Linked DNA regions of Homo sapiens: all the other regions are linked to region 3. Evidence: promoter capture Hi-C in 16 types of primary human blood cells and fetal thymus (Javierre and others, 2016). All regions are on one chromosome and are shown on one strand. The core of a region is centred on a gene start or on the middle of the fragment in contact, and the rest is flanking DNA. Distances in the headings are between cores, read along the strand shown. Region 1 has its middle 21 kb from the start of RAB3GAP2. Region 2 has its middle 5.2 kb from the start of RAB3GAP2. Region 3 holds the start of MTARC2 (mitochondrial amidoxime reducing component 2). Region 4 has its middle 65 kb from the start of RAB3GAP2.

Region 1 (6,705 bases), core at 2,741-5,240, 450 kb before region 3:
TTCATCCTATTTATTGTAATTTAAAATTTTGATTACAATGTTTTTAATTTTTAGAAATTCATTTGGTTCTTTCAAAAAATCTTCCGTTTTTAAACAGTATAATTTTATTTTTTACGTTTCAATTTCTTATTTTATATCTTTAATACATTTAAATATACTTATTTTATGATTTCTATTAGATTGTTTCAATATCAAATATTCTTGGGGATCTTATTCTAACTCTTATTCAGGGTGGATTGTTTCTTCATCTGTTTTGTAATTTTGGACTGTTATCTAATTTTTAGGAAAATTTATGTGTGGGAACCCTGTGCAGCCTGGGTTGAGGGTGTGCTCTTCTGGAGTAGGTTTTGGTTTGCCCTGGCCAGATGTAATAAGAGTATCAGAAGCTTGAACCAATTTATATGTTAATTGTTTGGCTTGCTTGCCGGGGTGGTGAGGAGTTAGATTCCCATAGTTAAATTTTCAGGGAGACTTTTTCCCACACAGAGCCAGGACTACTCAGACGAGCTCTTTTATTAACTCCCATTAACTCCCGGGGCTGGAAGGTGAATTGTTTCCTAAACTATTCTTTCACTAATGGAGCAGCCCTTTTAGGATAATGGTTTTATGAAGGAGGTTCTCAGTTCCAAACTCTGTTTTGGGCAAGCTTAAGACATAAGTGCCATTTTCCAAATGGGCATTAAAGCTGCCTGCATTACAAAGGCTGAGACAGCCTGTTGCTCTGACATAGTCTCTGTCAGCCCATAAACTTGCTTCTCTGTTTTTCAGTTTTCCTTTTTCATTTCTATCACCTGTGATGTTCCCTTTGGTTTGGTGCCCTTAGCTATGATTTAAAAGAGTATGTGTTATATTTTATCCAGCATTTCTACGTGCTTGTAGCTGAAAGTTTGTCAGATATTTGTAGTTTTCCTTGTAGCTAGAACCAGAACTCTCTCAAATTTCTTTTTAAGAGCTTTACATTTTGCTTTTATTTAAAATAAACTTTGAGGTTTTTTTTTTCTTTGGAAAAAAATATAATGAAAGAGCAAAGCACAAAAATCTGAATGAAAATTAAATCAGTACATATGTTTAAAAGACATAGCATCCTTGCCTGCTTTTTGTATTAATCAGCTTGTTCTTCTAAGTGCTAAGGAGACACATAATGTGATTGAAGGAAATAGATTTTGCCTTCTGGTTTTAGTATTCACCCTCTCTGTTATTCTCTAACTCTGGATATGTAATTTATCCTCCGGCATCCATAGTTTTCACCTGTAAATAGGAAAAATGATACCTGTTTAATTACTTCTTAGGGTTATTAAGAAGTTCAAATGAAATAACATATAGTCGGTGACAGCTTTCTGTAGACTGTAAAACATGAGGCAAATGATAGTTACTGCTAAGTACTTTCAGGTAGTAATGGGATTGGTAAGTTGCACTTGCTTTTATTCCCTACAGTTGCATGTTTCTGAGAATTGTGGGTCTGGCCCACTCATACGCTTATATTTGAATTCCCGAACTTTTTTTTCTATAAAAGAGAAAGGTGAATTAACCCTTCATAGAACACTAAAACTATAATTAATTAAGTGGAAAAATCTTATTCCCTATATCCATAAAAGATAAATTCCATTGAATTAAAGAAAAAAATGCCCCTTTTTCTCATTCAAGAGCAAAGACTTCTATGATTTCAGCTGTGTGCCACAGTTTTTATCATTTGTCTCTGTACTAAGTGGTTTCACATTCTGTGCAAGATATGTGCCAAGGGAGTTGAAAATCTTGCCCACTGCTGTGTACACCAGGAAAATAGTACTAAGTAGTACTAGTATTTTTTAAAATTATAATAAAATACTCATAACATAAAATATACCATCTTAACAATTTTTAAATGTACAGTTCAGTAGTGTTAAGTACATTCACATTATTGTGCAACCAATATCCAGATCTCTTTTCATCTTGCAAAACTGAAACTGCTTTCCATTGCAGCTGAACCATTAACCATTTTACAACTCTCCATTTCTCTTTACCTACAGCCTCTGGCAGCCAACCACCATTCTACTTTGTGTCTCCATGAATTTCACTATTCTAAGCACCTAATGTAAGTGGAATCATACAGTATTCATTTTTTTGTGACTGGCTTATTTCTCTTAGCATAATGTCCTTGAGGTTCATCCATGTTGTTGCATGTGTCAGAACTTCTTTCCTTTTTAAGGCTGAATAATATTTCATTATATAGGGACATTTGTATTACTTCTACCTTTTGGCTATTGTGAATAATGCTGCTATGAGCATTAGTGTGCAAATATCTGTTCAAGTACCTGCTTTCAATTCTTTTGGGTATATGCCCAGAAGTAGAATTGCTGAATCTTGGGTAATTCTATTTTTTTTTTTTTAAAGATGGAGTCTTGCTCTGTTGCCCAGGCTGGAGTGCAGTGGCACAATCTCCGCTCACTGCAAGCTCTGACTCCCGGGTTCACGCCATTCTCCTGTCTCAGCCTCCCGAGTAGCTGGGACTACAGGCACCTGCCACCAGGCCTGGCTAATTTTTTGTATTTTTAATAGAGACAGGGTTTCACCGTGTTAGCCAGGATGGTCTCGATCTCCTGACCTCGCGATCCGCCCGCCTCGGCCTCCCAAAGTGCTGGGATTATAGGCATGAGCCACTGTACCCGGCTGGGTAATTCTATTTTTAATTCTTTGAGAAACCACCATATTGTTTTCCATAGTGGCTGCATCATTTCACATTCCCACCAACAGTCTACAGGGTCCCACTTTTCCCACATCCTTGCCAACCCTTGCTATTTTCTGTTTTTTTTTTTTTGTTTGTTTGTTTAATAGTAGCTATCCTAATGGGTATGAATTTTGATTTGCATTTCCCTAATAATTAGTGATGCTCAGCATCTTTTCATGTACTTTTCTGTCAATTTGTATATCTTCTCTGGAAAAATGACTACTCAAGTCCATTGCCCATTTTTTAATTAGGCTGTTGATTTTTTTGTGGTTGTTGAGTTGTAGGAGCCCTTTATAGATTCTGAATATTAACCTCTTGTTGGATATATGATTTGCAAATATGTTTTCTCATTCTGCAGGTTCTCTTTTCACTGTTGATTGTGTCCTTTGATGCACAAAGTTTTTAAGTTTAGGAGAATATTATTTGTCTATTTTTGCTTACGTTGCCTATGATTTTGGTGTCATACCTAGGAAACCATTGCCAAAAGTAATATTTTTTGTATAGTTTCACAACGGAATCCCACATGAGGAACAGAACAATCAGTATTGTCTAGAATTATAATTATTTAAGGGTCTATCTAGAATTCAAATAGGCTTGGTGGCAAAAAAGAAAAGGAGTTGTTCATTCTTTTAGGCAACTCGGTACTTCCACCCCCTCTATGTTTGGGCATTTTCATATCTTATGAATATTGTGGCATGTGGAGTCTGTTCCCCACTCTAAATGCTGATTAGGCCAGACACTTCATTTCTCAAACTGCCTTTCCCTGGGCTGTAGGCATATGACCTTTGCCCTGCCAATCACATACACCTATACCGGAGATCCTTGCAGTGCCAAGCATTATAGAAAACCTGAGTTCTTGGGCACCAGCAGGGACAGCTGAGGTAATGGTAGTGCTTTGTGTCTATGCTTGCTATGTGTGGCAGAGGTTGCTGCTTGTCTATTCTTTCCTTCATCCACAGTAATGAAACCTCTTCTTAACTGGGCACATGCCATTCAGGATAAAGACTATATTATCCCGTGTCCTTGGGGGCCAGGTTTGGCTAATTCTGGCTAATGAGCTGTAACTAGAAGTGTTGCTTGACCTCTTCTGAGATCTTCCTTAAAGGACAGCTGGAGTTTCATCCGTTCCTCTTTTCTTTTGGCTTGAATGTGTATCAGGATGGCTGAAGCTGGATTAGTACCATAAACAATGAGAAAACTACAGTAGTGGAGGCCCAGCATAGGGGAGCAAGAAAATAGAAGGTGCCTGCATCTCTGGGGCCTTCAAGCAACAGAATTTACCGATCAGTCCTGGACCTCTAGACTTTCATATGAGAAGGAGAAGTATACATCTGTCTTATTTAAGGTCGGTAATTTGGGGTCTCTGTTACTTGCTGCTGAAGTTAATCTTAATCAATGCATTGTCAGTGGTGCAAGCTGCAGCGTGAAGGTGTGCAGGCTGCAGGGGGCCGGTTCTAGGGTGTGATTTGAGGCTTCACTCCTGATTCATTGCCCTGGTCTGGTTTTTCAACCTTAACTTGTGATTCTATGACACACATATCATTTTAATGAATTCCATTCTCTTTAAATCAGTTGGAGTTGTTTTTGATTATTTATAACAAAAAGTCCTTACTGATATGAGGTGAAAATTTCTTAAGTCTTTTTTAGATAATAAACTGAAGTTTGTTTTTCACCACAAATTTCAGCCTTAAAGCTCAGCCACATTTTCAGAAACTCAGGGTGAAAGTTCACACAGAGCATCAGTTAGAAGAAGTTAATTGTGAAAAAGGGATCATCAATGGCCATCCTTTAAATGATGAGACCTCCCGTATGTTTTGAATGATTTAATTTCCAACATATTCTCTTCTGAGTCTTTGATATACGTGCTGACTCCATGAAATAAAGTCTAAGTGTGAAGGGAAGAGGAATTTTAATGTTTATTCTATCTCAGCACCTTGCTAAGTGGTCCTCAGCCCAGGCATTGCTGAGCTGGGGCTGGATTTCTTCATCTTTACAATAACAGAAGAACGCACTTACCAGTGTCTGAGTTATTGCTTACAGACAGGAAGGTTTCAAGCCTCAGATGCTGAGCAGTGAGAATGGCCAACAAAAAGCATGAAGTTAGTTTTGCCTCAAATAAAAGACTTCTTTTGATTCTTAAAATCCTTTCAGAATCTCATTTGGATCTCTGAGGGACAATTATACTTTCTCATCATCTAGTTGTTCAACACCAGTTTGAGCTATTAGTGTACTCATTCATTCAACCATGCCTTTGGCAAACGCTTTTTAATACCTACTCTGTGCCAGGCATTACTTGGCCATCGCTTTCTCCCTGCCCCTTGTCTCAATATCCATTCCACATTCTGAATGAATTCAGTGGATGAGGCTGAAGAGTCTGAGGGAAGCAATGTGATTAATTTATGCATCATGTATCAAGTATGACATGCAGATGCTGGGACGCGGCACTTGAGAACACAGGCTGCCTCCCTTCCTCAGCTGTTGCAGGCGTGCACTCTGTCAAAATGCATGTCCAGAAAGGTCTAAGTCCCTGAAGTGTGGTGTTTATTAAGAAAAGGTTCACCTTTTATATCCTCCAACATTTCTAGTAAAATCATAACCATCCTCAATTTGCAACCACAGACTTCTGGGAATACAGCTATTATTGGCTCCAAACCCTCTCCTCTGTGATTCATAGATTGCTATCTGTGAGGGCAAGAACTTTGCATTTTATTCATCTTTGCATCCCCAGAGCATAGCATGTAATAATCATTTATTATTTATTTATTTTTTTTTTTATTTTTTTTTGAGACGGAGTCTCACTCTGTTGCCTAGGCTGGAGTGCAGTGGCACTATCTCGGCTCACTGCAACCTCCGCCTCCTGGGTTTAAGCAGTTCTCCCTGCCTCAGCCTCCTGAGCATCTGGGACTACAGGCACCCGCCACCAAACCTAACTAATTTTTGTATTTTTAGTAGAGTCAGGGTGTCACCATGTTGGCCTGGCTGATCTCGAACTCCTGACCTCAAGTGATCTGCCCACCTCGGCCTCCCAAAGTGGGGGGATTACAGGTGTGAGCCACTGCGCCAAGCCTAAATAATGTTTTCAAAAAATTTAAATTATTTCTCACAAACAATGTGCATACAGTTTGTTGTCTTTACTGTCTACCCCACACAACTGACCTGGTACCCCCTAGTACTCACATAATTCAGCTTAGAGATCAGTTCCTCAGGGATACCTTCTCTGATACCGGAGCTAAGGTCTGGGCCCCCTATTATGAGTTCAGAGAACACCTTAGGTTTAGGTTTCCACTTTATAGCACTTACTATACTTTTATTTATGTAATGTTTGTGTTCTGTACTGGAATAAGACCCCCAGGAAGTCTGTAACATCCTCTTATTCTCAGTGCTATTATTTATAATCAATGCCTAGGACACAATAGATGCTCAGTAAACATTTCCAGAATAAATGAGTTTTGATCAATAGCATTTTTGAGGCTAGTCTCCCTCTTTTTCTCATCCTCTACTGTACACAGTGATTTACATCCTTTCCAAACTGGTGTTTTTTTGTTTTGTTTTGTTGTTGTTTTTTTTTTTTCCCTACTGTCACTTTCCAATTCCTACCACCTACTGGTTGAACCCATGATGTCTTGGGGACTAGATGTCAGGGTGGCTACACATTTCCATTTTGGAGAGCAGTTTCCTATTTTTAGCACTTCTCCAGGGCTTGGACTGATAAGGCAGTGGAGTCCTTCTGCCCTCAGAACTTTGCCTTTTAACTTCGTTCCTTGGGAATGTGCCTGTCAGGCTCTGTGGAGAAGTTATTCCTCCTTTTGATGAGAAATTGAGACTACCTGAGCTCCTTCCCTGCTTTAAATGAACCACTAGAGGGGGCAGTGACCTGCTCTGCTGCTGCGCCTGAATTGCACCTGTAGGATATTAGGGTTAGATGGATCTTAATGACTTCCTGGGCCACCTTCTCCCATTTTCTAAACAAGTCCCTAAGGCTACAGACTTGGTCAGTGACA
Region 2 (7,132 bases), core at 1,541-4,040, 470 kb before region 3:
TCCAGCCCTGATAAGATTATTCCCTAAAATCCAGCACCAATCCCAAACTAAACCAAAATTTAAATTTAGATTCTTAGTGTTACTGGACGAATAACAAACACATGACACTTTCTGGAAGGAGACTGTCATTCCTTGAAAACCATTCAAGTTCCTATTCAGGTAAATGCATTTTGTGGAAGTAACTGCTGTTGGCTGATTTTGCTGGCCTTTGTTCTTCCCTGAGGCATTCATATGTCTCCTGTGGTGGTCATTGAATTTCATTACTGTGTTGGCTCAGTTTTAATGGTGAAGTCCCTGACTTCCTTCCAAGTACTGTTGAAAAGGATCATTCATGGATGTTTTTAAGGACTTTAGATACCCTTCACAGAAATTACAACACATTCATGAACTGAACTCTTCCCCCAGGAAGTTGTAATGCAACAGGGGGGGATGCCTCTGGAGTTCTGCTACCATGGTTTCTGCGGCATGTGGGAGGATTGCATCAGACAGTGAATATCACTTATTCCACAGTCATAAGAAAGCACATTGCAAAAATGTGCAGGCCTTACATATCCCAGCATTGACAGTGTCTCTCCGAGGTCTGGGTTCAGGAGGTAGGAAAAGCACTGTGACCAAAATAACAACAGGATGAGTCCAGGTACCAATGTGAACTTCCTCCAGTATCCATTAGTGTGAGTCAGAGCACAGATGACTGTTGTTAAGAGAGAGATGTGTTACTGAGGAAGATAAGCAGCAGCCCCTTGCCAATCCTTAGCAGCAGCTTGAAGCGAAGGGGTTGAGTTGCAGGATGGGCACTAAACGCAGATGTGAGAGAAAGAGCAATGGACTTGGAATCATGACTTTGGGGAATTCATGTCACTTTTTTGGGACTTAGTTTCTTGGTTTATAAAATGAAGAGGCTGGGCTCTAAAGTTCATCCCAGGGATATGTAGGTTTTGGTAAGAGACTGGGAATGGCAAGTTCTGGGAGCTGGAATTGCTTAGAAGGAGTGGTCTGTGTAAGCACCCTAGTAAGAAGCTTGGGTCAGCAGGAGAAAATGTGAGGGTACTGGACATCTCTAAGGGAAAGTAAGGGGAGCATAGCAAGGGCGTGGAGAGTCCTTGAAGCCTTACCTCATAGCTGTGCTAAGGGTCATCCTTGAATTGAAGATTGAGCAGAAGCAAGGGCTATTTACAGTTATTATTCAACAAACATTTATGGAGTGCTTTTTACATTAAAGATACTGTAGTAAGCACAGTAAGGCAATAAGGACAAGTGATCCAGAGATTCACTACTTAAAAGCAGACAAACACAAATGCTCTAAGAGCAGAGTGTGATGAGTACCATGGATGGCTTTTGGATAAAGGGCAGTGGGAGAAATAAGGGAGAGATTAATTTAGATCCCTAGGGGTGTCCCTTGGAAAAGAAGTAGTGTGGAAGAGGTAGGAAAGGCATTAAACAAATTGGTTCTTGATTATAGAGAACCTCAAAATCCAAATAGTGAAACCGCCTTTGCAAAATTATGACTGAGATAGTGAAAGAGATGTAACTTAACCGACTCCATCTTGCTTCTAACCTCCAAGCTGTCCTTGTTCATTCTTGGGCGTAAGTTGAACTAACTTTGAGAGAAACTTAGTTTACAGTTTAAACAAAGACGGTAACAGCCTTTTCCCAAAGCAGACCTCCTTCTTACCCGGGGACTAGATTGCCTTCGTAGGACTAACATTAGCCACAAGATTAAAAATTATGGTTTAGGAGTCATGCAGCTGGAGAGTGTGACCCTCCCTAAACTGCTCCTAAGATCAATGCTTGAACTATTTTGTAGACCCTGCACTTGATGGATCAGCTGGCACCACCCAAATCAATAAACTGGCTCATCTGACCTTGTAGCCCCCACCCAGGAACTGACCCAGCACAAGAAGGCAGCTTCGACTCCCTATGATTTCATCCCTGACCAATCAGCACTCCTGGCTCATTGGCTTTCCCCCACCCACCAAGTTATCCTTAAAAATTCTGCTCCCCGAATGCTCAGGGAGACTGATTTAAGTAATAATAAAACTCCGGTCTCCCTCACAACCAGCTCTGCGTGAATTACTCTTTCTCTGGCAATTCCCCTGACTTGATGAATTGGCTCTGTCTAGGTAGCGGGCAAGGTGAACCCCTTGGGCAGTTACCATAGTATGGTCTGGTCTTTTTCTGTGTGCAAGGTATAACCAATTGAAGATATTTTGAAGAAGATGTAGAAGTATGTGGGATGACTGAAGGCAGATAGACCCCTCTAGATGTCACAGCAATATTCTAAACAAGAAGTAATAACATTGGAAAGGCAGTGCCTCTCTGGTGGCTGAATCAATAGAATTTTGGTATACAGTTAGATATAGGTGTGGGAAGGGAAAATATGACCCAAGGTGATGTTCAAGTCTTCAGTCCAAAGAATTGGAAAGGTGGCAATGTCATGTCAGCAACCAAGATAGAGAATGTAAAAGGAGGAATGGCTTTGGGACAAACAAGAATAGGATGAGGCTGGGCACAGTGGTTCATGCCTGTAATCCCTGTGCTTTGGAAGGAAGAGGTGGGAGGAATGCATGAGGCCAAGAGTTCGAGATCAGTCTGGGCAACATAGAGAGACCCCATTTCCACACAAAATTAAAATTAAAATTAAATTGTCTGGGCCTGGTGGTGCATGCCCATAATCCTAGCTACTTGAGAGGCTGAGTCAGGAAGCCTGCTTGAGCCCAGGTTTGAGGTTACAGAGAGCTATGTTTGTGCCACAGCTCTCCAGTCTGGGTGACAGAGCAAGTGAGACTCTGTCTCCAAAAAAAAAAAAAAAAGATAAATGGATAAATTCAGTGTTGGATTTGTTAAATTTGAACTGCCCGTGGAAGAGCTAGGTTTTTTTTTTTTTAAGTTATTTTTATAAACTGAAGTTCCAAATTGGGATTGGAGAGGCCAGAGCTAGAACCTACCTATGGAAGTCTTCCACACAGAAATTATATTGAAGGGAGGGGATGAAAGTGCCAGTGGATTCTAGATGGGGTGAGAGCAGTGAGAGCAGGATTGGATGAGGAAAACAAGGTGGGAGGACTATCTTTTTTTTTTTTTTTTTTTTTTGGTACAGAGTCTTGCTCTGTCACCTGGGCTGGGGTGCAGTGGCATAATCTTGGCTCACTGCAACCTTTGCCTTCCAGGCTCAAGCGATCCTCCCGCCTCAGCCTCCTGAATAGCTGGGACTATAGGCACATGCCACCATGCCTGGTTAATTTTTGTGTTTTTTGAAGAGACAGCATCTCACTATATTGCCCAGGCTGGTCTTGAACTGCTAAGCTCAAGGAATCTACCCTCTTTGGCCTCCCAAAGTGTTGGCATTACAGGCATGAGCCACCATGCCTGACCAACTGTCTATTTTTTTAGAGGTGGATGGAAAAAGAAGCTCTAGTAAAGGAGATAAAAAAGACATAGTCAAAGAAGAAAACTGTACATGGTAGGACCATGCTACAAAAGCCCAGTGAGGAAGAAGACATTTTCACAAAGGGGTAAACCTATTGTATTGAATTCAATAAAGAATTTAAGAAAGGAAAAGCCAAGAAGAGATGATTCCATTTGGTGAATAGGTAGTAACAAGTGATTGTCCAGTGTATAGAGCAGCCAAACTCTGTTTCTTTTGCAGAAAATTTGTAACCTTTCTTCAGAAGTTGATTATTTTTCTGATAGCCAGAGAAGCAATGGTAATCTTTTTCTTTACAACTAAAATAGAGATGGAAAGAAGTCTTTTCTTTTTGCTGGCATTGACCAGTTAGGAAAAGAAGAACTAGCTTCACTAAGCATTGTGTTTTATTGCTTTTTTGAATCCAAGAAAAAATATTTATATTTTCAGCATTTCCCAATATTTATAACTTTATTGGGCCAAAACCTACTTTATTTATGTATTTATGTATTTATTTATTTATTTTTGAGACAGAGTCTCGCTCTGTTGCCCAGGCTGGAGTGCAGTGGCATTATCTCAGCTCACTGCAAGCTCCGCCTCCCGGGTTCACGCCATTCTCCTGTCTCAGCCTCCAAGGAAAGAAGATATTAACACAGTTAGCTAACAAATATAAGTGCCATAGTGCTTTTAAGTCTCCATCTTCTTAATTTTAATGTGTTTAGGACTTGTCAGGTTAAGTGAGCCACCAAATGTCAATGAGATTTGATATTTGTGGAAGAGATTACTAGTTGCTCATTATCCATTTCCCCTTTTGCTTTAGCAGGAGAACCCATATATTATTGGGACACTTATGTGCCCAGATTTGAAGACAAACCACATTTTCCAACCCCTCTTGACTCAACGTATCCATACACTATGTTCAGGCCAATGAAATAGAGCACGAATTGTTGGAATCATTGGGAGGGGTTTCCAGAAGTTTACTTACAAGAGAGACAGCTAAGAAAAAGTCTTTTGGCTTCTCCTTCCCCTTTCCTGTTTCCTACCTAAAATTTACCATGGTTGTAGCCCCAGCATCCTTTTTAGACAATGAATTGACCTAAACTGTGGTGGAGCATGAAGACAGGAGCCTGAGTCTCCTCTGCTTTGTGGAGCTGCCACGCCAAGCTTGGACTGCCACATCTGGACTTCTTTCAGGTGACAAAAGAAATCTGTGTGTGTTCTAGTCACTGCTATTTTGAGTTTTCTGTTATTGTAGGTGAACCTAATCCTGATATAATATGACCTTAGTAACAAGAGAAACTTTTGATCAAGGAAATTTGCTCTATTCTATGTATCTTGTTTAAATAAAAGCATTTTTATTTCTCTGATTGTCTTTTTCTCTAGCATAATTCAGATGAGATTAGACCAATTACCTGGATATTTTAAATTGTTTAAATATTTTTGACTTCATTTGGACATAAAAATATGCCCCAGGTGACCAAGTATTTCTTGTTTTCTTATTTTTAGCACAACTGAAATAGACTCTTAAAAGATTCTTTGAAATAAAAGAATGCCCCCCTTGTTGTTTAGCAGCCGAGTGATAAGTTCCAATCAACAATTTCATAATGGAAAATCGAGGGAAGGTTAGGTGAAGGGGAAACTGCTGGTTGGAGTTGTATATAAACTAAGACCACAAATATGAGAAGCCATTGCCTTGTGGTTTGTGAATAAAATAGCTCCGTCCAGCACCTTCCCTGTGGTTTCCTTACTCTGGACTACACTTTCTTCACAGTTTTCCCAAACCTTAGCTTCAGTGAAGCTGCAACCTCCTGATCCCTTTCTTCCTCTTTGATCTTTTTATTTTCTGAATATGTTACTATCTCCTTGTTATCTTTCTCTATTCCTTCAGTCCCTTCCTCAAAGTACCTTGTTACAGACTCTTTTCTTTCTGTTAATGGTTATCACATTTGGTGGATAAGCTATGAACAGAAAGGATAAATATTCTTTTCCTCTGCTTGTTCACTAGTCAGCCACCAAGTTCTATTGATTTAACTTCCAAAATATCTCTTGGATTGATCCTCTCCTGATATCCTCATTTCCACCTCCTCATTGAGCTGTTTCGATAGCTTCTTCGGTCTTCCTGCCTTTGCGTCTGGGCTTCCCACCTCAACCATCCTACACATTGCTGCCAGATTTGTCTTCCTGAAGCATAATTCTAATCATATTACCTAGTAAATCTCCCCATAACACTTTTGTTTCTTCTTTAATTTATTCACTCATTTAAGAACTATTCTCTGGGTACCCATTAGGTGCTATGAATGGCTGGAGGCCCTAAGAACATCAATATAAGTAAGACCCAGTACTGGTGAAGGTAGGGGTTACCAATACACAAGCAGGAATAATTACCAGAGAACAGAGCAGGAACAAAAACCATGGCCTTGGGATTCAGAAAAGACTTTTAAGAGGTAATATCTGAGCTGAGTCTTGAAAGCCGAATAGATTTTAGCTGGCTGACAAGGGCGTAAGGGAGAAACGAAAAAAATACCCTAGCAGAAGAAACATCATGACAAAAGGCTTGGGGGGCAGCAGTAACTTGTGTGTACAAAGAAACAGAAGCAGCGGTTTCTAAAATGTGAAGTGTGACACTACGGTTGGGGCTGAGTCTAGAGAGGTGGCCTGAGTGATTTTAAATTTTCTCAAATTTCATTTCCTGTAGAATGTAAGGACTAAGCAACATTTCTTAGTTTGCTTAAATATGAGAAATGTTTCCTTGGGTTCATTTTCTTCACTGATACCACTTTTCACGTCTTGCTTGCAGTCTAAGGAGCTGCAGGGTAGGGACAAGGGTTTGTAGGTCCGGAGTCAAGATGTGTTCCCAGCCCAGCTCCCCCTGATGCACTTGATCATTTACACTGGACTCTAGATTTGTGTTGAAGGTTGACTTTCTGTTCCCCCTTGGTGAAACCTTCACAGACTACTAGATGCCATAGCAGGGGAAGTTTCCCTTGAGTGCTTTGCTCAGGGTCTCCCTCTCTTAAGCTCTCCAATTTCCCCTCCTTACATTGCCTGGCATTAGGTGACTGGGTGTTTTATTCTTCTTGATGCCATTTCTTTCCAGCAGATGCGGTCAGTGTTAATTGTCCTGCTAGTAGCCACTAATTTGACTTATATATAATCCTTGCATTTTAAAATCTTTTTTTTCAAATTCAATCCTTTCCACTGTTCTAGTTACTTGGATCCCTCATTTGTGGTCATATTCTATTCTTTTCTATCTTTCTTGCACTGAAAGGCACTTGGAAGATTTGAACCACTCAAGACTATAGACCTACACAAAGGCATGCTGGAACATTCTAACGTGGCTAATTACGGAGGATCTGCTGTCCTCTTTTCCACCGAGCAAACTTTGAAATCCTTCTAAACGCTGTTCGAATATCACCTCCTTTGTGAAAAGCCTGACTCTACCAGGCAAAATTAGCCACTTTGGACCCCCATAGCTTTTTCTTTTTTCCTTATAGAGACAAGGTCTCGCTCTGTTGCCCAGGCTGGAGTGCAGTGGCATGATAGTGGCTCACTGCATTATTGTAGCCTTGAACTCCTGGACTCAAGTCATCCTCCTACCTCAGCCTCCTGAGTAGCTAGGACTACAGGCGAACGTCCCACCCCCCAACCCATAGCTTTTTAATGTATGTGTCTATTCTGAAACTTAACACCTTGACTTCTTGTATTATGGTTTATCTGCATTACTGTCTC
Region 3 (6,534 bases), core at 4,035-6,534:
GCCCTAGAGTATGTTTGGAAATGTCATCTAGGACCTAGGGCCTGGAATGGGGGCTTCACACCTCTGCCTGGTGTCCTATTTTCCTGTGACTGAGCTGGTATCCAAGTTGCAAGACAAAGTACTCTCCTTTTCTACTCAAGTAAGAAGACTCTTTCAGAGCTGTGAGCTGTGCTGCCTGGGGTTAGAAGCGTGGGTCAAGAAATCCCTTAGATGTGCTGGCTACTGTCTCACTAGGTTGCATGGCCCCCGAGTCCACTGGCTGTGAGCCCAGCACAGCACCAGGACTTGCTTAGAAGTTGCAGTCCTTGTGGCTTATACTGCCTTTCAAGTTTATTTAGTACCCCAGAGCCCGTTAGCCTGTGGAAGCAAGGCTTGCTGAAACTTAAGTTGTGACTGCTGGGATGGGTGATTCCCCTCTGGTTGGGGCTGGTCTAAGTGCTCCTTCCATGGGTGTCAGCTGAGTTCTGCCCATATTGCTTACTGCTGTGATAGGAAAGCACTGAGTTCCAATGCAAAGTTCCACAATCGCTGTGCTCTTCCTCCCCCAAGAGCACAGACTCTCTCTTGGCCACTGCCAGGAGACTGGGGAGGGTGGTACTGGCAATTCAAGACTATCTTTCCTACCCTCTTCAGTGCCCCTTTCAGTGATACGAAGTTAAAACCAGGTACTTTGATTGCTCACCTGATTTTTGGTTCTTATAAAGGTACTTTGTAGTATAGATAGTTGTTAAATTGGTGTCTCTGCATGGAGGATGATCTATAGAGGCTGCTAATCAGACATCTTGCTCTGTCCCTGCCACTTGGTTTTATGTGTTCAAGGGAAAGTAGGTGAGAGATCCAATGCCATCTTCCTTTCAAAGCTGAAGGTGCTGACTATCAAGCTTGAGTTTCTAATCTGGTGCTTTCAGCCCTGGTCATGTGGCTGGATTTTCATAGTCACTAGGGCATTTTGACTTCCTAGCCATGGTTCTTCTTCCACTATATATATATGCTTAATATCCATTCAAACTCCTGAGTTTAAGCGGCTCTTCTGCCTCAGTGTCCAAAGTAGCTAGTATTACAAGCATGCACCACCATGCCTGCCTCATTCTCTCTTTTTCTGTTGTTTTAAATTTTTTGTAGAAACAGGGTCTCATTATGTTGCCCAGGCTGGTCTTGAACTCTTGGGCTCAAGTGATCCTCCTGCCTCAGTCGCCCAAAGCACTAGGATTACAGGTGTGTGCCACTGGGCCTGGCCTAAGGGGACCTTTGATTAATGTTTGGCCTGCATCAAACTGGGATGTAAGTGAGAAATAAACTTTTATTTTGTTAGAGCATTGAGATGTTGAGGTTGTTACAATATTTTAGCCTAGCCTGCGTCATGAGATTTGTTATATGGGTTGAAGGTTGACTATCCTCACTGCCTGATAATCTGATGTGCTCATCTCCCCAGGAAAGACAAACTGCTACATGGCCCTGATGAATACTTCCATTGGCTGCTGGGTACTCACCTTCCTGAAGAGGACCTGGCTAAGCAAGGTAATATTTGGGTTTTAGGCTTCTTTTTTTCTCTGGTTTCTTGGTTGATATTTTAATTGACAGAGTTTTCTTTATCTATGTCAGTGCCTCTAGGCAGACAATGATGTCTTATTCACTAGAAAGATTTTTCCTAAGCAGAAGTTGCCAAAATATGACAAACTAGGGGAAAAAGTTATGACTTGGGAAGGCATGATAAAAGGGTAATTTTCTTAATTTATAAAAGGATCTTATAAATTAACAAAAAAATAGATAAGTTGATTCAAATCAGAAGGGAAAAAAGATATGCAAACAGCCAATTAGACTCATGAATCCTCAACCTTTGATATGGTTTGGATCTGTGTCCCCAACCAAATCTCATGTTCAATTGCAACCCTCAGTGTTGGAGTTAAGGCCTGCTGGGAGGTGATTGGATCATGGGGCTGGTTTCTCATGGTTTAATACCATTCCCCTTGGTGCTATCATCCTGAGAGTGAGTTCTCATGAGATCTGGCTGTTTAAAAGCATGTGGAACCTCCCCCCTCTCTCTGGGTCCTGCTCCTATCATGTAAGACATCCACTGCTGCTTTGTCTTCCACCATGAGTAAAAGCTCCCTGAGGTCTCCCAGAAGCAGAAGCCGCCGTTCTTCCTGTACAGACTGCAGAACTATGAGCCAATTAAACATTTTTTCTTGATAAATGACCCAGCTTCAGGTATTTCATTATAGCAGTGTGAGAATGGACTAATACAGCCTCTCATCACCCCTCACTAATTCTACAAATGAAGATGCTGGGCTGCAAATGTACACATTACTGATAAGGAATTTCCCTGCTCCCCTGAAGGCACCCCCAACCCCAGCATTGGTGAAGCTTAAACAGGGCAGGCTATGATAGATAATGGCTGGTGAAGACAGCAAAGACTTGGCAGCACTCACCATGGCAAAGTTCCTCACTTGATGTCTATCCCCATCATTTTGCACATGAGGAGGTGGAAGCATGGAAAGGTCAAGTTACCCATCTATCTAGGTAACTATTTCTTCTTTGATGTCTCAAAGATACCTCTCACTCGCTGTTCACAATAGGCTCATCATCTTTTTTCCCAGACTATCTTCTTCTCTTGAATTCTCTTTTTTTTTTTTTTGAGACGGAGTCTCTCTCTGTCGCCCAGGCTGGAGTGCAGTGGCGCGATCTCGGCTCACTGAAAGCTCCGCCTCCTGGGTTCACACCATTCTCCTGCCTCAGCCTCCCAAGTAGCTGGGACTACAGATGCCCACCACCATGCCTGGCTAATTTTTTGTATTTTTAGTAGAGACGGGGTTTCACTATGTGAGCCAGGATGGTCTCGATATCCTGACCTCCTGATCCGCCCACCTCGGCCTCCCAAAGTGCTGGGATTACAGGTGTGAGCCACTGTGCCCAGCTTCTCTTGAATTCTTAATCTCTGAGAATGGTACCCCCATCCCACCCCAGACTTTTATGCCACAGAGCCAGGAGGCCCCGTGGGCTCTTCCTCTCCCTCTGGCTCTGTGTTCTGTCATCACTATCTCTTGTTAATTCTGTCCCCTGACCATCTCTCCTAACCACATGTCTATCTCCAGCCCCACTGTTATTTTTCCTTGATTTGGAATTACATCAGCCTGAACTAGGGCATTTGCAACTCATCTAACCATCTTTGGTGTTACTCTTTCTCAGAGCAGCCAGAATGGCCTTCCTAGCACCCAAGTCTAATCATGCCAGACTGTTGTTCAGAATTCTGAGGTGTCTCCACATTAAGTAGAGATAAGATGCCTGTTGATCTGACCTCTGCCCACCTGTCCTGCCTCAACTCCCGCCACCTGCTGCATGCACAGGTACATCCTAATACAGCTGGATTGCTGGTGGTTGCCCAAACATGCCACACTCTCTTGTTCCTTCCATTTTTTCAGGCTATTGCACGTGCTGCTCCTTTTGCCCAGAATCCTCTCCTTTACCCATCTCCAAGCCCCTCCTCATGTTCAAGTCTCAGCTCCAAAGCTCCGCCCTCTGAAAACAGCACTGTCCTGAGATTCAGCTGCTCTTTTGCCTCTGCATCCTCTGCATCTTGACCTTGCTTCTCCTCTGACATTATCCTCTAGACTTGCAGGGGAGGTGTCAGTCTTCTGGGGAGTCAGTGAACTGGATGGAAGGGCAGCTTCTTCTAAACTTTAAATCCCCAGTGCCAATCTAGGACGAAGCCTGGTGAATGATCAATATCTATGTGGTGAAAGAAAGAGATGATTAATCAATAAGACATTTGCCCTGTCTGGGAGCTCACGTATAGCGAGGCGATGGCTTTGTAAGCCCCTCACTCTGACAGCAGGCTTGTGGGCAGGGAGGACTCTGACCCTCCTCAGGAGTTGGGAGAGGCAAAGGGGGTCAGCTACAAGTGTACACACATCACATTCACCACACCATGCTTAAAAAACAAATCCATAAGTCGCAGCTGCCAAGCATGATGTAAATGTATGGGGATTGAGGGACTAATTCTGCTGGCCTGAGGTTTTTTCCTGGGTGGGGAGAGATTCAGGCCCTGTTTTGTCTTTCACTTTTCACAAGGAACAGCCAAAGGGAACCTGGCTCCTCTGGTTCTCCATCCTTCCCGGAGTCTCTTCCCACACTCCAGAACGGGCCCCTTTCTCTGGAGGTGGCCAGCCCAGATTTGGGGGGTGGCCCACTGGTTGGCCTCCTTAAACTTTCCTAGAACTGTGCCACAGTTTAAGGGACAAACTTTTGAAAAACAGAACAACAACAAAAAACTTGAAAGACTTCAAACCTTAATTTGTCTGAGAAAATCCACTGTTAACCCAATAGCTTGCTTGAATGGAGGTGTTAAAGATCAACAAAGCCAGACATTAGTTAAACCATGAAAACAGATTTTACTCAGTAACTACTTACAGTAGGAGAAAAAGCTGATCATTCTCATTTGTGCATAGCAGAATGGGCGTTTTAAAGGGTGAAGGAGAGAATAGGGCCGGGAAGCTAGCAGGGGATCAAGTGAAAAATCATGAAGGGGCGGTCAGTATTAATGACGGGCAGCTGTGCCTGGAGCTGGCCGTTATGAAGCTGGGATTCTATCCTCCCACAGAGACTGGGGGACAGAGGCCTATCCTCCCCATGACTGCATTTCAGAGCAATGGCTTTCAGGTCCTTGAGAAAGACACTTCTGAGGTGTAGGCGATACATATACATCTCAAAGCAACAGAGAAAGGATTCACAGTTGTAAGCCCTTTTAAGAAAATATCCTAAAAAAGGGAGGTCAGGGGCTTTACCATCGGGTGTTGGCTAGAATAAACGGGGAATTCTCCTGGCTGCCTTGAGCTTTCTCGGGAAGACATTTTACTGGGGTCGAGGTTAGGCGGCAGCGGAGGGTGGGGGACCTTGAGTCATGCTCCTATAAGCCACGCTAGAGTTCCTCGTCTTTGAGTGCAGAGGTTTAGACTGTGTCTTTGTGTGCAGAAAGTCCTGCAGTTCTCACAGCGACCTGCCAGAAAAAGTCGTTCCCAAATGTTTGTAAATCCTCCGTTGGGCAACCCGCCTTCACGTTCTGCGGTGATCTTGTCGAGCGACTAAGCGTGCAGTATTAGCAGAGAAGGGGGTGGCAGAGTGCTGGCGCTGAAGGTCATGTTGCATGGGTAACTGTCGTGTTGTAGGGGCGGGGAAGAGGGAGGAGACACTGACCACCCCAGAGGCCGCCCCATTAGCTCGCTTGCTTTGGGCGGCGTCGCTCCCACGGCGCCCAGGGTACCCCCGCCGCTGTCTGCCTGTCTTCCTCCATTACCGCGCAGGCTTGGTCACCGCATTAAGGCATTCCCGCTCTCCGCGGAACTGCTCTGCCGTCTCGGCGGTGAAAGTGTGAGAGGGTCCGTAGTTGGGTCAACTTTGACTCCTCTCGCCTGCCCGGATCCTTAAGGGCCTCCTCGTCCTCCCGGTCTCCGGTCGCTGCCGGGTCTGTGCGCCGGTCCGCGCCCGCCCTCGCTCTGCCATGGGCGCTTCCAGCTCCTCCGCGCTGGCCCGCCTCGGCCTCCCAGCCCGGCCCTGGCCCAGGTGGCTCGGGGTCGCCGCGCTAGGACTGGCCGCCGTGGCCCTGGGGACTGTCGCCTGGCGCCGCGCATGGCCCAGGCGGCGCCGGCGGCTGCAGCAGGTGGGCACCGTGGCGAAGCTCTGGATCTACCCGGTGAAATCCTGCAAAGGGGTGCCGGTGAGCGAGGCTGAGTGCACGGCCATGGGGCTGCGCAGCGGCAACCTGCGGGACAGGTACAGCACAGCGCGGGCGCGGGGCAGCGCGGAGCCTGCCTGGGATGAGGAGCGGGGGGGCAGGTGGGGCCCGATCTATCTGGGAAGGACTATAGAGGTTTGCCACCTGAGTTTCTGGGCTGACTGTTGGGCCGTTGGTCGTTTATCTGGGAAGGCCAAGTTCATGCCAGGTTTATTTTTGGTAAAGTAGGTAGGGGCAATCCCTTGCCCTTCCCTAGACGAGAGATTCCTCCTCTGTAACAGGAGGGGGTCTGACCTGTATCTCCAAGTCTCCTTAGCTCTAAAGTTTGTGATTCTATCCTAGTATACCAAAGTAGAAAAATAAAGCTATTGGCACTAGAAAGCAGCAAGAAAGAAACCAAGTGTTGTTCAAGGACATTGGCTTAGGCCTTGCTGGGCCTTGTTCCTCACATTTCTCCAATCCTGGGGGTGCCCTGGAGGCCTGATACACTTTGATGAAGGATGAGCAAGTGGCATGGGGACTCTGGGGCAGAGGTGATACTTGCCATTAAGGGAATAGTGTCCCCCCTTCTCCCATAGGCAGAGTTGTTCACAGCCTGGAACTTTGGGACTTTTGGGCCTGACACATAGACATTTCATACTTAGGATTAAGATGCCTTCTTCTTTTTTTTTTTTTTTTTTTTTGAGACAGAATCTCACTTCGTAGCTCAGGCTGGAGTGCAGTGGCACTATCTCAGCTCACTGCAACCTCCATCTCCCAAGTTCAAGCAATTCTCCTGCCTCAGCCTCCCAAGTAGCTGAGATTAC
Region 4 (6,444 bases), core at 611-3,110, 410 kb before region 3:
CAACTAGATTATTAACTGCTTAAGGGTAGGCATTCTAGTTCTATATGTCTAGTGCATGTTGAATGCTCAAAATATGTTTTGTGAAAGTATGAATCAATCAATCAATAAGCTATGTTTCCTGGGATATACCAGCCTTCAGGTAAAAACTGAGTCATTGTAACAATAATCAAACAGTTCTTCTCTGGATATGCCTTTTTCTTATTACACATCCCTCAAATTCTAACCAGATATTTTTTATACTGTACTGGAGTGAGTATTGTATATTTTCTCATATATTCATTATTTCACACACACACACACACACACACACACTTTTCTTTTGAGGCAGAGTTTCACTCTTGTTACCCAGGGTGGAGTGCAATGGCATGGTCTCGGCTCACTGCAACCTCCACCTCCTGTGTTCAAGTGATTCTCCTGCCTCAGCCTCCTGAGTAGTTGGGCTTACAGGTGCACACCACCACGTCTGGCTAATTTTTGTATTTTTAGTAGAGATGGGGTTTTGTTTGGCCAGGCTGGTCTCGAACTCTTTACCTCAAGTATTCCACCTGCCTCGGCCTCCCAAAGTGCTGGGATTACAGGTGTGAGCCACTGCGCCTGGACTATTTATTTTTTTGAGATGGAATTTCGCTGAGTGCAGTGGCACAATCTTGGCTTGCCACAACCTCCACCTCCCAACCTCACCCTCAAGTGATTCTCCTGCCTCAGCATCCCGAGTAGCTGGGATTACAGGCACCTGTCACCATGCCTGGCTAATTTTTTGTATTTTTTAAAATAGAGACAGGGTTTTACCATGTTGGCCAGGCTGGTCTCAAACTCTAGGCCTCAGGTGATCGACCTGCCTTGGCCTCCCAAAGTGCTGGGATTAAAAGCATGAGCCACCACGCCTGGCTACATATATATTTAGATGTCTGCTAAAGCCAAATAATATACCGGGGCCTGGGAATGCAGTAATGAGGATTGATGATGTTGATGATGATTATGATGATAACGATGATTCCTTTAGTATTTGAGAGTCTTAATAAAACAGCACTTCTCATTCCTGAGTTATGAATCAATCTAGAAATAAGCCAAAAGAACAGCATATAGAGTCAAAGTTGTAACATTTAAAAAATTACTGATAAAGCTTATATGGGAAAATGAGCCTTATATCTATGGCCAAGGGGTCTTCTGAATACTAACCCCCCAGAACTATTTAGGCTCACCCACTCAATCAAGGCAGTGATTCCTTACATGGTCTGTCCCCATGAGATCAGCCACAGACAAACAGAAAGTGTACTATCTGGGGGAAGGCTAGCCCCCAAGAGAGAGGGCAGGGAAGAATTAATTGATGGAACAAGATCCTCCTGGTTACCCCATGGCTATTGCAGTTTTCCTGCCAGCCTTGGTTTTCATCAGCCATCATTCTTATAACCAATACTGAAAGCCACGTTCCTGTTGCCAATATGCCTGGAAGATGAAGCCGCTGCTGGTGTTGGCCAAAGGCACTTCCACTGCTGTGATTGCCCAGCAACACCTGTGCCAAGGCTACTGATGCCTGGTCAAGGCGATAATGTCTGAGCTGACTCCTGTGGTTGCCAAAGTCAACAAAGTTGCTGAAGAAGTTGTTGGCACCAGAAGGTTTGCATGCTCAGCATCTCTCAGAGCTTAAGAGCTCTTGTGGTTTCTACTTGCTATTTTCCTGCAGCCCCTAGGCATAGATTTCAGGCTGGGTCAGTGAAGGCTGAGCAGGAGGATACTCCGAGGGACAGACACAGGCCAATGACAGAGATGACTCCAAATGAGGTTATTCATCCCATCTCAGAGAGATGCCACCTGAAGTGAAAGAAGACAGCACTCACCACACAGCCCTTTTCTTGTGTCCCTATATTGGACCACATCACTATACTAAATTATCAATTACTAATACTTCTAAATCCATTCATGATCTTGTGAATAATACCATTATTTGCAATGTGTTTTGTGTTAATGTTAAAGACATTAATATGTTAAATGTAAATTTGCGAAATGCCTCTTTATATAACCCAGTTTTGGTATTTCTTAATGTAATATTTCAGGAGTCTCAAAAACAAAAGGAGTTTGGTGCTTCTTCAACCTCCAAGGGGGCTCCCATCTCACTTCTTTTGCCCTTTTACCCCTCCTACTCTGGACCACTGTCCTTGTATCAAACTTGTTTGCCTTAGAAGCTCTCTTTCCTAAGAAAGGTTCTTCTCCGGGAGGTTCTTCTACCTTTCTCATAAGTAAGTCTCTGTTGCTGACCCATGAGTTTTTGCAACAAGCCTTGACATGCCTGAGTCCTAGAGTGAACCCAGCTTAGGCTCATGCTGGGTTCCCTATATGTATAAGGAATGAATCAGGAAGGGCTTACCTGCATTAATCCAGGAGCTTAATTAAACTAACAAGAGCAACCATCACAGGGTGGATATAAAGAGGAGCTTGTTTCTTGGATTTGTTTCCATTCTTCCTCCAACGTTAGCAACTGTTCAATATTTAGCCCTAACTAAATCAGCACATTTCAGTAGTCACACCTAGAAATCTTATGAGTACATGCGGAATTTAAGGAATGTTTAGAAACAAATGTTGTTGGGGACTTGAATTAACAAAGCTTGCTGGGGAGTTCTGGATCTTCCTGCATTTTGTTTCCCTCACAGAAGGTGTTCTTCTGTTTATGTTTAGGACTCAAATGTATTCTTGATTTGTGTTCCTCTGAATTCCCTAACGAAGGTGTTTATTCAAATGCCTGGCTGGGCCCGGTGGCTCACGCCTGTAATCCCAACACTTTGGGAGGCTGAGGTGGGTGGATCATGAGGTCAGGAGATCGAGACCATCCTGGCCAACATGGTGAAACTCCATCTCTACTAAATATACAAAAATTAGCCAGGCGTGATGGCGGGCGCCTGTAGTCCCAGCTACTCTGGAAGCTGAGGCAGGAAAATCGCTTGAACCAGGGAGTTGGAGATTGCAGTGAGCTGAGATCATGCCACTGCACTCCAGCCTGGGCGACAGAGCCTGACAGGCTTGTGGCAGTAAAGAGGAAGTAGATAAAACTTGCGTCCTTGGTTGAAAAACAAACACAAACATGTATCTCTTTATGAATGTGTTGACATAGCACACTTTTGCCTGCTGTCCTGCTGCTGACCAATTAATCTAACCAGCTTCTCTTCCACATGCAGCATCATCCCCCATCTCTGAGTGAAGTCCACAATTAATGAGATTCTTTGGGTGGTTGTTGCCATTGCTGACTCACTGGCTGTTTTAGCTACAATGCCTCACCAGTGTATACCTGCCTCAGGCACAGACGGAATGCTGGGTGGCCTGATGCTATCTTAGGTAACTAGAGCATTGCTTCTGGAAGTGAGAAGCTGCCTTTAAATTATTCAGTGAGCCTTCTTCCAGTTCACAGGCCTTTCACAACAGTAGGGAAAGCAGCAGCAAAGTGCCATGATGGCCTGGAAACAGCAGGATTTACAGGGAAGGCAAAAATAGGGGAGGAGGATTCCACAGCTGGAATACGCCAAGCAGAGACTAGAGTGTTGCAGAGCCTGCACCTGCTCACCTCTTTTCCAGGTGGGAATGTTGGAAGAGAAGTGGAAAGGGCGTAGTGACTCTCAAGCAGGGTTACTGCCACCTTGGCGACATTTGTTAGTTTGCGTGTTAATGTGTGTATTTTTTAATTTTTATTTTTTAGCACTCTCTGATAAGGAGATAATGTGTGTTTTGTTCATTTGTCTGATTCTTGTTAGACTATTTTCTACTTGAGAGTCCTATCTTATTGATGTCATTACAATGTTATACACTCAACTCTGGCACTTAGTTACTCTTAATAAACTTATATGGAATGAAATGTGCTCTGTTTGAACTTCTCCTTTTAGCTCTATTTGTATGCTGAAAAAAAAAATCACAAAATAACTCTAGTTTTTTCACTTTATTACTTAGTTCTCAGTCCTGCATATACTCGAAGTCAGCTTTCTTTTCTCTGGGTTGAACAACCACATCAGATGCCTGGTAGTCTCAAAGGGATTGATTACTTGAGGATAAATCCTTAAATATTCTTGAAACAACAGAGATTAAAGCACACACACGCATATATATGTGTGTGTATATCCATATATATAGATATATATAGATTTTCTTTTTTTTTTTTTTTTTTAGACAGAGTCTCACTCTGTTGCCCAGGCTGGAGTGCAGTGGCACAATCTTGGCTCACTGCAACCTCCTCCTCCCAGGTTCAAGCGATTCTCCTATCTCAGCCTCCCGATTAGCTGGGATTACAGGCACATGCCACCAAGACTGGCTAATTTTTTTATTTTTAGTAGAGACGGGATTTCTCCATGTTGGTCTGGCTGGTCTCGAACTCCTCACCTCAGGCAATCCACCCGCCTCAGCCACCCAAAGTGCTGGGATACAGGCATGAGACACCGTGCCCAGCCAGCACTCCCAAATTGTATTGGCCACCATGTTAAGTGCTTCTGGGCACTACAGATCTACAGATCTGCTACAGACATTCTTTTGTCGGGAAGGGAAAACTTTTCCTCTAGCCTCTTTAGTGACAGAGTAATGAGTGAAAAAAACAGTTTTAGTTACACACATATGCATGGTTCTGGGTAAAGTAAAATGTGGCTCAAGGAGGCAGCCAGAACTTAGTGTTTACATGCCTTCTTAGGCTAGACAAAGAAAAAGAGGTTTGGGGCTTGCTGAGGGGGTAAGTTATGCAAGGTGACCAAGGGCTGTGTGGAAACAAGAGTTGTTTATCAAGGTTTGTTATGCAGATTTCAGGTGGTGCCTTCTCCATTGATAGGAGTTGCAGCAGCCATCCTCCTCCTTCCTGGTTTGGGAGAGGGAGACACTTTTGCAAATGTAAATTTCTTTTATAAAATGTAAGCTTCCTTTAAGAAAGGGAAATTTATGCTCTGCTTCAGAGCTTTTTCTGGGTATGATGTTCCTCAATTGCCTTCAGCTCAGAATAATCCTTATGCCAAAAAGGCCTATTTTGGGGTGGCATATTCTGGTCTCCTTCACTATTATAGTTCATTCTACATCAGGATAGATTTTGAAAAGTAGTTGTGCTTCCCTATACACAATCAGCACACTTTGGAAGCAATAATACTCATTTCTATAGGTCTCTGGGGTTGCTAGGGTGCTTCACTGGGCAGAGTCCAATAACCTCAATTATGGAAGCCTTACTCTATGTCTTAGAGTAAAATCATTTTCACCCTTTCATGATGGGCAAGCAATAGGCTCAGGCTCCATTGCATGTATCTCAGTATGCGGGATAGCACAAACAGGAAAGAGAACACGGCAAGTTAGAGGAATAGAGTTCAATATAACTGGAGTATTGAGTGCAATCTGAGCCCAGGGAGAGCTAAGGGTCAAAACCAGATGTAATGGGTATTTTTTGTGTGCATCCCTGGCATCCAATCCTTCCTTTCCTGTCAATAGCCCCCTTTTTCATTTTGAGATTCATCCCTTATGCATTTCATTCCTTGTGGTCTAGATGGAGCTCTAGGTCTGGGGGTGGAAATTGGATTGAGGCCTGAGTCAACTGGCATACCATGTTTTCTTGGCACAAGAGTGGGATCTAGACTGGTCTTATCTGTGTGAATTTCTGGACATTTCTTTTTCTTTTCTTTTTATTTATATATATATTTTTGAGACGGAGTCTCACTCTGCTACCCAAGCTGGAGTGCAGTGGCACAATCTTGGCTCACTGCAACCTCTGCCTCCCAGGTTCAAGCAATTCTCCTGCCCCAGCATCCCAAGCAGCTGGGATTACAAGCATGCACCACCACGCCTGGCTAATTTTTTGTATTTTTAGCAGAGATGGGGTTTCACCATGTTGGTCAGGCTGGTCTCAAACTCCTGACCTCAGGTGATCCACCTGCCTCTGCCTCCCAAAGTGCTGGGATTACAGGCGTGAGCCACCATGACTGGCCTGGACAGTTCTTAAGAATTCTGAATCAAAGACACCCACTGTTTTCTACCAGATTTAAACCTAGAAATAAGTTGTTTCCAGAGCAGGTGGCAGCCATTCTGAGGCCACAGGGAAAGAGCCCATCTGAGAATGGAATCAATACAGCAGTTGAGTCATGGGACAGAGAGAAAATGGGTCCTGGAAATATCATTTGAACTCCTGCATCATGATGTGCCTGAACTTCTGAAATTTCCAATCACATGAGCCAACACATTACCTTTTTGGTTTAGGCCAGTTTGGGTTGAATACTCTCTTATTTGTAACTGCGAAAGTCCCAGTGTGTATACTGGGTTAGCCAAATGCCTTCATCAAGTCCAAAGAGTGAGCACAGGGTGAAGATTGAGAGAAAAAGCCAAACCAATTGTAAGAGGACACTGGAAAGGTCCATGGAGTATGAGTAATAGCTGCCATGAAGTGAGAAGATCTGTGATGATGGCCATGAGTAGGGACATGCCAGGGGCTGGGTCACCAACTGC

Evidence for each region. The method cuts DNA at HindIII sites, captures the fragments that hold promoters and counts their contacts. A CHiCAGO score of 5 or more calls a contact.
Region 1: a contact is called between a fragment that was not itself captured here and the fragment with the promoter of MTARC2 in region 3, in 1 of 17 cell types (M2 macrophages). The highest score is 5.2, in M2 macrophages.
Region 2: a contact is called between a fragment that was not itself captured here and the fragment with the promoter of MTARC2 in region 3, in 3 of 17 cell types (M2 macrophages, M1 macrophages and megakaryocytes). The highest score is 8.4, in M2 macrophages.
Region 4: a fragment that was not itself captured here is called in contact with the fragment with the promoter of MTARC2 in region 3 in 1 of 17 cell types (erythroblasts); the score reaches 5.0 in erythroblasts.

Annotation. Positions count from the first base shown.
Region 1 is chr1:220,289,860-220,296,564 of GRCh38, forward strand. No RefSeq gene overlaps it. Among named protein-coding and RNA genes, the nearest start is that of RAB3GAP2, 21 kb to the left of the region's middle. The HindIII fragment of the contact is 6,693 bases long and covers 645-6,705 here.
Region 2 is chr1:220,274,093-220,281,224 of GRCh38, forward strand. No RefSeq gene overlaps it. Among named protein-coding and RNA genes, the nearest start is that of RAB3GAP2, 5.2 kb to the left of the region's middle. The HindIII fragment of the contact is 3,550 bases long and covers 1,016-4,565 here.
Region 3 is chr1:220,743,038-220,749,571 of GRCh38, forward strand. It overlaps MTARC2 (mitochondrial amidoxime reducing component 2), which reads left to right and starts at 5,285. Exons shown (of 8, transcript NM_017898.5): 1 at 5,285-5,766. The coding sequence starts at 5,495. LOC124904516 (a long non-coding RNA gene) reads right to left here and starts at 5,778. Exons shown (of 2, transcript XR_007066884.1): 1 at 4,782-5,778; 2 at 1,283-3,726. The HindIII fragment of the contact is 9,208 bases long and covers 2,363-6,534 here.
Region 4 is chr1:220,334,272-220,340,715 of GRCh38, forward strand. No RefSeq gene overlaps it. Among named protein-coding and RNA genes, the nearest start is that of RAB3GAP2, 65 kb to the left of the region's middle. RefSeq lists enhancers at 1,620-2,819, 2,222-2,729, 4,253-4,760, 4,761-5,267. The HindIII fragment of the contact is 1,479 bases long and covers 1,122-2,600 here.